Regions from separate parts of the Homo sapiens genome. Here region 1 is linked to region 2. The links are contacts of gene promoters, found by promoter capture Hi-C in human tissues and cell types (Jung and others, 2019). All regions are on one chromosome and are shown on one strand. The core of a region is centred on a gene start or on the middle of the fragment in contact, and the rest is flanking DNA. Distances in the headings are between cores, read along the strand shown. Region 1 overlaps PAX1 (paired box 1). Region 2 holds the start of NKX2-4 (NK2 homeobox 4).

Region 1 (3,241 bases), core at 185-2,684, 310 kb before region 2:
TCCCCAAGTTATCTGATTATCTTTTATTAGAACCTTTAAAGAAGTTGGAGGACCACAAAATTAAATTATTAATTTAATAACTAGAGTAACAAATTATTGCTGTAGCTTTTAAAAACAGGTGGGATATTACATAATAGGAAACTGATATAATGGTAAAAGGGACTTATGCCAGCACCATTCAATGACCCTGTATTTCTGAAAAGGAAAGTGTCTTCTAAAGAAAATCAATCACCAGTGAGGCTTAATGTTAAAATCAGCTTCCCCGCAACTTCCACCACAAATTAAGACAGGTAGTTTAGAATTAGGAACTGTGTGTGTTACCTTTGGCTTATTATCTGCACTTTATAATTTGTGTCTAATGTAGAGCTTAAAATGCCTCCAGGGCAAAGTGGCTCTATTGAAAACAAATGCATTCCTCTGAAGACTGTGGGTCTTTTTTCTAAGTCTTCCTTCTCCTTAAGATGAACCCAGTGAAATATTTCAAATCTGTGGTTATACATTTTTAATTCAAAAGAACCTGCTTATTTAAGTGATTTGTGTAATGTGGTAAATTTTATTTTGATTTCGATTTCGACAGATAACCTCAGTTGTTGAGAAAACAGGTTGATTGGAGGCTGAGGATGAGTGAAGCGCTCATCTGCGACCCCTTAACTATCCTTAAACATAAAGCTTAAAGGAGTTCTTACTCTCAACTTTTAACATTTCCTTCACTTGGATTTTTCTATAAATGAGTAAATGATAGTATCCTATTTAAATTAAACTTAAAGTTTAAAAGAGCTCTAAATCCCAATTTTTATAAATTTTCCTTATTTGGATTTGTCTGTAACTAGGCAAGTGAACATTATCCTAATATCCCAGGATGTCTGTGCTCTAGGAAAGGTAGAAATAGAAAAAGTATTTTTCTCCCTTCATTTCACTGTTGTGGATGGCATCTTTATTTCCTTCCTGCCCCCCACCCCACCCCCACTCCCCAGGGCATGCCCTCCTATCTTATCAAGACTACTTGGAAATAGCACTTTTTGCCTGGGCAGCACCAAGGAGGATGGCCCTCCTGTCCCCTGCCTGCCCACTGCCACCTGCCACTACATCCACCTCGCTTCCAGCCCTGGACAGGTGGAGGCAAAGCAGCTAGTAAAAATCCTTTTATAATCTGGGAACTCCACGCTGTCCCCCAGGTTTGTGCCTTGTCTCTTTCTCTGCTGGGGCTGGGACGACCTGGGGTGACCCTTTCCTTTCCCAGGTTGGTTGAAGTTGCAAATTTCTGGTGCTCAGAACCTAAGCACTGGCAAGTTTGAACTTAGCAAATCAAGCCATTCCTTTTAACAACAAAGAAAATGAGGACTCAAGGGCTGGTGAGCTTTTCCCAAGTTAAAGGAAAAACTGGAACCCTCCTGGTTGTGTGAGAAGATCCCCCTCACACTGCTGACTGTCAGTGAAATACCTAAAATCTGTTCCTCGACTTTTCAGGAAGTGGACTTATGGAAAAGGAAGAGAAGGAGGAAGCGGAAAAGGAGGCAAGACTCCCAGGCACATTTTCCACAGAAAGAGAGAACCCCCCCACCCGCCCACCACCACCACCACCCACAACCACAGAAAGCTCCTGAGCCTGGAGTAAAGGACACTGATTCACATGGCCTCTACTTTCCCACAGTGTGTATTTAAGAAAAAGAATCCAAACGCCTTTTTTTCTCTCTAAGGAACCTGGAAAAAACAGATGGGCAGTGGGGCAGAGACGGGAAGGGTCTGGGGATGGAGGTTAGGTGCCACTAGCAAGTCCAACCCCACCTAAAGGGCTTAGGTGCCAGAACAGGTCTACAGAAAGGTGAGCCTGGAGGGTGCCTGCTAGACGTGTCTCTGGATGGAGAAACAGAAACCCAGAAAGAAGCAGGAACTTGGTCGAAGGTGCCAGAACCGGATCCAAACCCACGCGTCCTGTGTGCCAGAAGGACCTCCTTTCACCTCTCCCATCATAAGTGGAGGGGACAGTCTTGGGGCCAGTCTCTCTCAACCTCGGGTACCTTTATAGGGACACCTGTCAGAACTAATCTGCTCCAAGAAGCTACATGCTCAAAGGTTAACCCAGAAGAAGGGTTCATGCCCAGGACCCACCTCTTCCCCACCCGCTCTCCCTTTTCCCAGGCTCACACCCGCTCCCCAGTACCCTTCCTAACCCTTCCAGCATCCACCCGCCCCACTCCCTGCGCTCCTCACCTTCTCGGCTGGGATGCTTGAAGGTCATTGCTGCCGCGAGTTCCCCGCCATGCACAGCTACGCCGGCCCCGGGGGGCGCCAGAGGAGGACCTTGCGCAGGCGGCCACGGCGGGCCCGGGGCGAGGTAGCCGCCGCCCGGGGCGCTGTACACGCCGTGCTGGTTGGAGGCCGGGTAGGCGCAGGCGGGGAGAAAGCCGCCCACGGCAGAGAGGGTGGAGGCCGACTGTGGGGATAGAGAGGGACCGTCAGCAGCAGAAAATCCTGCCTTCTCTAGCCCACGCCATCACTGAGACGGGGGTTTTCGTCCATTATCGCTCCCCCACGTCCTGTGCCCATCCATTATCCCCATGCGAGGCCTGGCCTCTAAATTTCCTAGTCAGGACTCTTTGGCAAAGTGATTTCTAAGAATTCACTCAAACTGTTACAAATAACGATGTGAAGGGGTCATGGTATTCATATCGGGATTTAGAGAAAGAAGGCCCTTGACTGTGGATTCGTCATCTGGAGTTCCAGCTTTTTTTAGCTAAGCTATCTTGGCAAAGGCAAGTCAACCCCTCTAAAGTCAGACTCTCCCAAACTAGTACGCTTGAGGAAAGGACAGAAAGGACGCTTGCTAGCCGGCTGCCAGATACAACCATCTCTCTGCCTGGAAATTTTTTCTTTTCTTTCTCTCTCTTTTTCCCCACTTGCCCAAACCTTCTGCTTCCCTACTTAAGGTCACGGCCTCACGTGCCTCCTGGTTACCTGAGTGTATTTAATGTCTGCCTCTAAGGCAGGTTTCTCTAGCCCATTCACTGCGGGGGTGGCGGGGAAGGCCGTGCGGTTCACGCCGGCCCAGTCTTCCATCTTGGGAGAGTAAGCGGTGCCTTCGCTCCCAGCCAGGGCCCCTGCAGGAGAGAGAGGACGGATTAAAAGGTGCCTCCGAATCTGCCCTGGGCACACGTGTGGCCAACCACCCAATTTGTATCTGAAGACACGGCCAGGGGTCCCACAAAATTTGTAGGTGGCCTGACACTCCACCAGGAGGCGG
Region 2 (3,242 bases), core at 525-3,024:
GAAGACCTAGCCGATGTGTTTCAAGTTCATAAAAGACCTGTAAAAGTAGCATCGTGTTAAAACTGTAGCAATATTAATCTTGCTAAGTCAATACTGATGTTTGTAAACAATTCCTGTAACCTTGCATTTTATTTTTACAGTATATTAAAACATTACTCTTAACATTCGTCTGTCACTTCCTTCCCACAGGTGACCTATGGCTTTTTCCCCCCTAGAAAGGGCAGATTCTTTGCAAAACCATACTGAGTTGAACAAAACAATTATTAAAATCCTAAGAACAAAACCATGGAGAACATTTCCACCAAAGGGCTAAAACCAAACAGAAAAAGGAATATGTAACACTGTTCTTGCCTTCAAGACATGTACTGTCAGGTTAAACTTAAATCGATTCCACACACCCTTTTCTGGAAAAAAAATAAAACAAAATATTGCTTAAGAAAGCACTCTCCTTGTTTTTCTTTCTCCTGCTCCAGTTTCCAGGAAAACTTAAAAGTGTTATCTTTGTTTTCTCGTTATCATTATTATTGCTGCAAGATTGTTTTCAAAATTTAATCAATATGCTTTGCACACTGCTTTTGTCTTATGCTTTGTCTTGTTCAGTATTTAGTAGAGAGTTCATAATGTCTAAGTATTCGGGTAAAACTGCAAGTCAAAGGATGACAAAGTTTTAAAAATCTGTTTATCTATGGTTTTGTATTTTTCCAAAGAAACTACAATTTTCACCTGATTTCTGCATCCATTTTCATATCGCTTGAACAGGTTATATTTTTCCAACAACAACAAAAAGACCCGTTGCGAACAACTAGAAATATTTGGAAGTTTTGATATTTTGTCTTTCTCTTCTTTTTGATCACGGTAGTGATGGGAGAATAAACTTAAGTCAGAGATATTTACTGAGAGAAAGAGAGTAAGAACACACACAAAGGGAAAGAAAGCAGAAAAAACTTTACAAGTGCAAACTCAGTAGGAAACATTTTAGGAAATAAAAATGTTCCCCCTCTTTCCCTTGTTCAATTTCCATCCCCACAGAGGAAAAACAGAATACTTACAAGTTAGCATCTGCGTATTTATCAGTGTATGTGTGTTTTCTCTCTTCTCTGGGCTTGGATACTTTGAGCTAATTTGGAAGTGCCCGTTTGGTTGCCCACAAAATGATGCTTAAGGGTCTAAAAACGCATAAATTAGGGAGCCCTACAATGGCAAAGGACGGTCATTGTACCTCCTCTCTTTATGCGCTCTTACGGTGGGACCCAAGAGCCTTTTTTTTTTTTTTTAACACTTTAGGTGATGGAGCGAATGAGGGGCTGATAACTGGAGAGGACGAAGCAAGCCCCCGCAACACCCTCCCCCCAAACTTAGCAGCACGTTCCCCATTCCGCAATTATACCGGACTTTGGTGCGAAGTCACTTTAGAAAACTGGGATCTGGAAGGGGCCAGGCGCGGAGTCCATGTCTAGCCTCGACGCCAGCCTCCGAGTTTCTATTTCTGGTGCTCGAGGGCTGGGGTAACGGCCGCGGATGGAGGAGCGAAGGATGGGAAAAGCAAAGGATGGGAAAAGCAAAGATGGGAAAAGCAACGGGGAGTGATCTTTCCAAGAAACACCCAACTGCCCCTTTTACCTTTTTTTGCCTCCATTATGGGGCGGGGGTTGGGGGGGCGAGAGAAAAAGATGTCAATGACCATTGTTTGCTCGTTTGGGATGTTGCTCCGCCCCCCGAGTCTGTCGTAAACCTGGCGCCGGACTAAAATAAACCCCAGATCCCGCAGCCCGGGGGGCTCGCCGAGCCGCCGACTCCTCGTCACAGGCTCAGCTGCCGCGGCCGAGGTGGCGGCGACGAGCGGCCGCCGCGTCCTGCCGGCGCGCGCCCCAGGCCCCCCTACCTGGCTGCCCGCCGAGCCATGTCGTTGAGCCCAAAGCACACGACGCCCTTCTCCGTGTCCGACATCCTGAGCCCCATCGAGGAGACCTACAAGAAGTTCAGCGGCGCCATGGACGGCGCGCCACCCGGCCTGGGGGCGCCCCTGGGGGCCGCGGCCGCCTACCGCGCGCCGCCACCTGGGCCCTCCTCGCAGGCGGCGACCGTGGCGGGCATGCAGCCTTCTCACGCCATGGCGGGTCACAACGCGGCGGCCGCGGCGGCGGCGGCAGCAGCTGCGGCGGCGGCGGCCGCCACCTACCACATGCCGCCCGGCGTCTCGCAGTTCCCGCACGGCGCCATGGGCAGCTACTGCAACGGCGGCCTGGGCAACATGGGCGAGCTGCCCGCCTACACGGACGGCATGCGGGGCGGCGCGGCCACCGGCTGGTACGGCGCCAACCCGGACCCACGCTACTCGTCAAGTGAGAGGGGCCAGGAGCGCGGGGCTGCGGGCGGCTCAGGCGTTTCCCGCCACAGCCGAGGGGCGCGGGGGCGCGGGACGGGGTGCGCGCGGCTTAGGAGGTCCTGGGGCCGAGCGGGCGCGCGGGGCGTCCTGGGACGCGGCCCGGGACGCGCGGGGTTTCTGGGGACCCTGGGCGCGCGGGGGGTCCTGGGACCTGACCGGGAACGCGCGCGGCGTCCTGGGACCCGTTGAGGGCGTGGTGCTCTGGGACCCGCCGAGGGCGCGCGGGGCGTGCTGGGGCCGGAGGCCGCGGCGGTCAGGGGGTCTTGGGATTCAGCGAGGGCCCGGCGGCGTCGCGGCCGCGGCGTGAAGAGAGCGGCGGCTGGACCGGCTCCCGGCGGGCCTGGAGCTCACTCGCCTTCCCCCTTGGGACTCTTCCCCAGTCTCCAGGTTCATGGGGCCGTCGGCGGGCGTGAATGTGGCCGGCATGGGGTCGCTGACCGGCATCGCGGACGCCGCCAAGTCGCTGGGCCCGCTGCACGCGGCGGCGGCGGCAGCCGCTCCGCGAAGGAAGCGCCGCGTGCTCTTCTCGCAGGCGCAGGTCTACGAGCTGGAGCGGCGCTTCAAGCAGCAGAAGTACCTGTCGGCGCCCGAGCGCGAGCACCTGGCCAGCATGATCCACCTGACGCCCACGCAGGTCAAGATCTGGTTCCAGAACCACCGGTACAAGATGAAACGGCAGGCCAAGGACAAGGCGGCGCAGCAGCTGCAGCAGGAGGGCGGCCTGGGCCCGCCGCCGCCTCCGCCGCCGTCCCCGCGCCGCGTGGCGGTGCCTGTGCTGGTCAAGGACGGCAAGCCGTGCCAGAACGGCGCCAGCACGCCCACCCCCGGCCAGGCCGGTCCGCAGCCGCCGGCCCCG

Evidence for each region. The method cuts DNA at HindIII sites, captures the fragments that hold promoters and counts their contacts. A contact is called where the count stands out against the background at its distance.
Region 1: a fragment that was not itself captured here is called in contact with the fragment with the promoter of NKX2-4 in region 2 in 1 of the 25 tissues and cell types used here (mesendoderm cells).

Annotation. Positions count from the first base shown.
Region 1 is chr20:21,708,415-21,711,655 of GRCh38, reverse strand. PAX1 (paired box 1) reads right to left here. Exons shown (of 5, transcript NM_001257096.2): 3 at 2,956-3,098; 4 at 2,212-2,434. Among named protein-coding and RNA genes, the nearest start is that of PAX1, 4.4 kb to the right of the region's middle. The HindIII fragment of the contact is 4,854 bases long and covers 1-3,241 here.
Region 2 is chr20:21,396,058-21,399,299 of GRCh38, reverse strand. NKX2-4 (NK2 homeobox 4) reads left to right here and starts at 1,774. Exons shown (of 2, transcript NM_033176.2): 1 at 1,774-2,342; 2 at 2,767-3,242. The coding sequence starts at 1,901. LOC105372558 (a long non-coding RNA gene) reads right to left here and starts at 1,366. Exons shown (of 4, transcript XR_001754528.1): 1 at 724-1,366; 2 at 1-37. The HindIII fragment of the contact is 9,137 bases long and covers 1-3,242 here.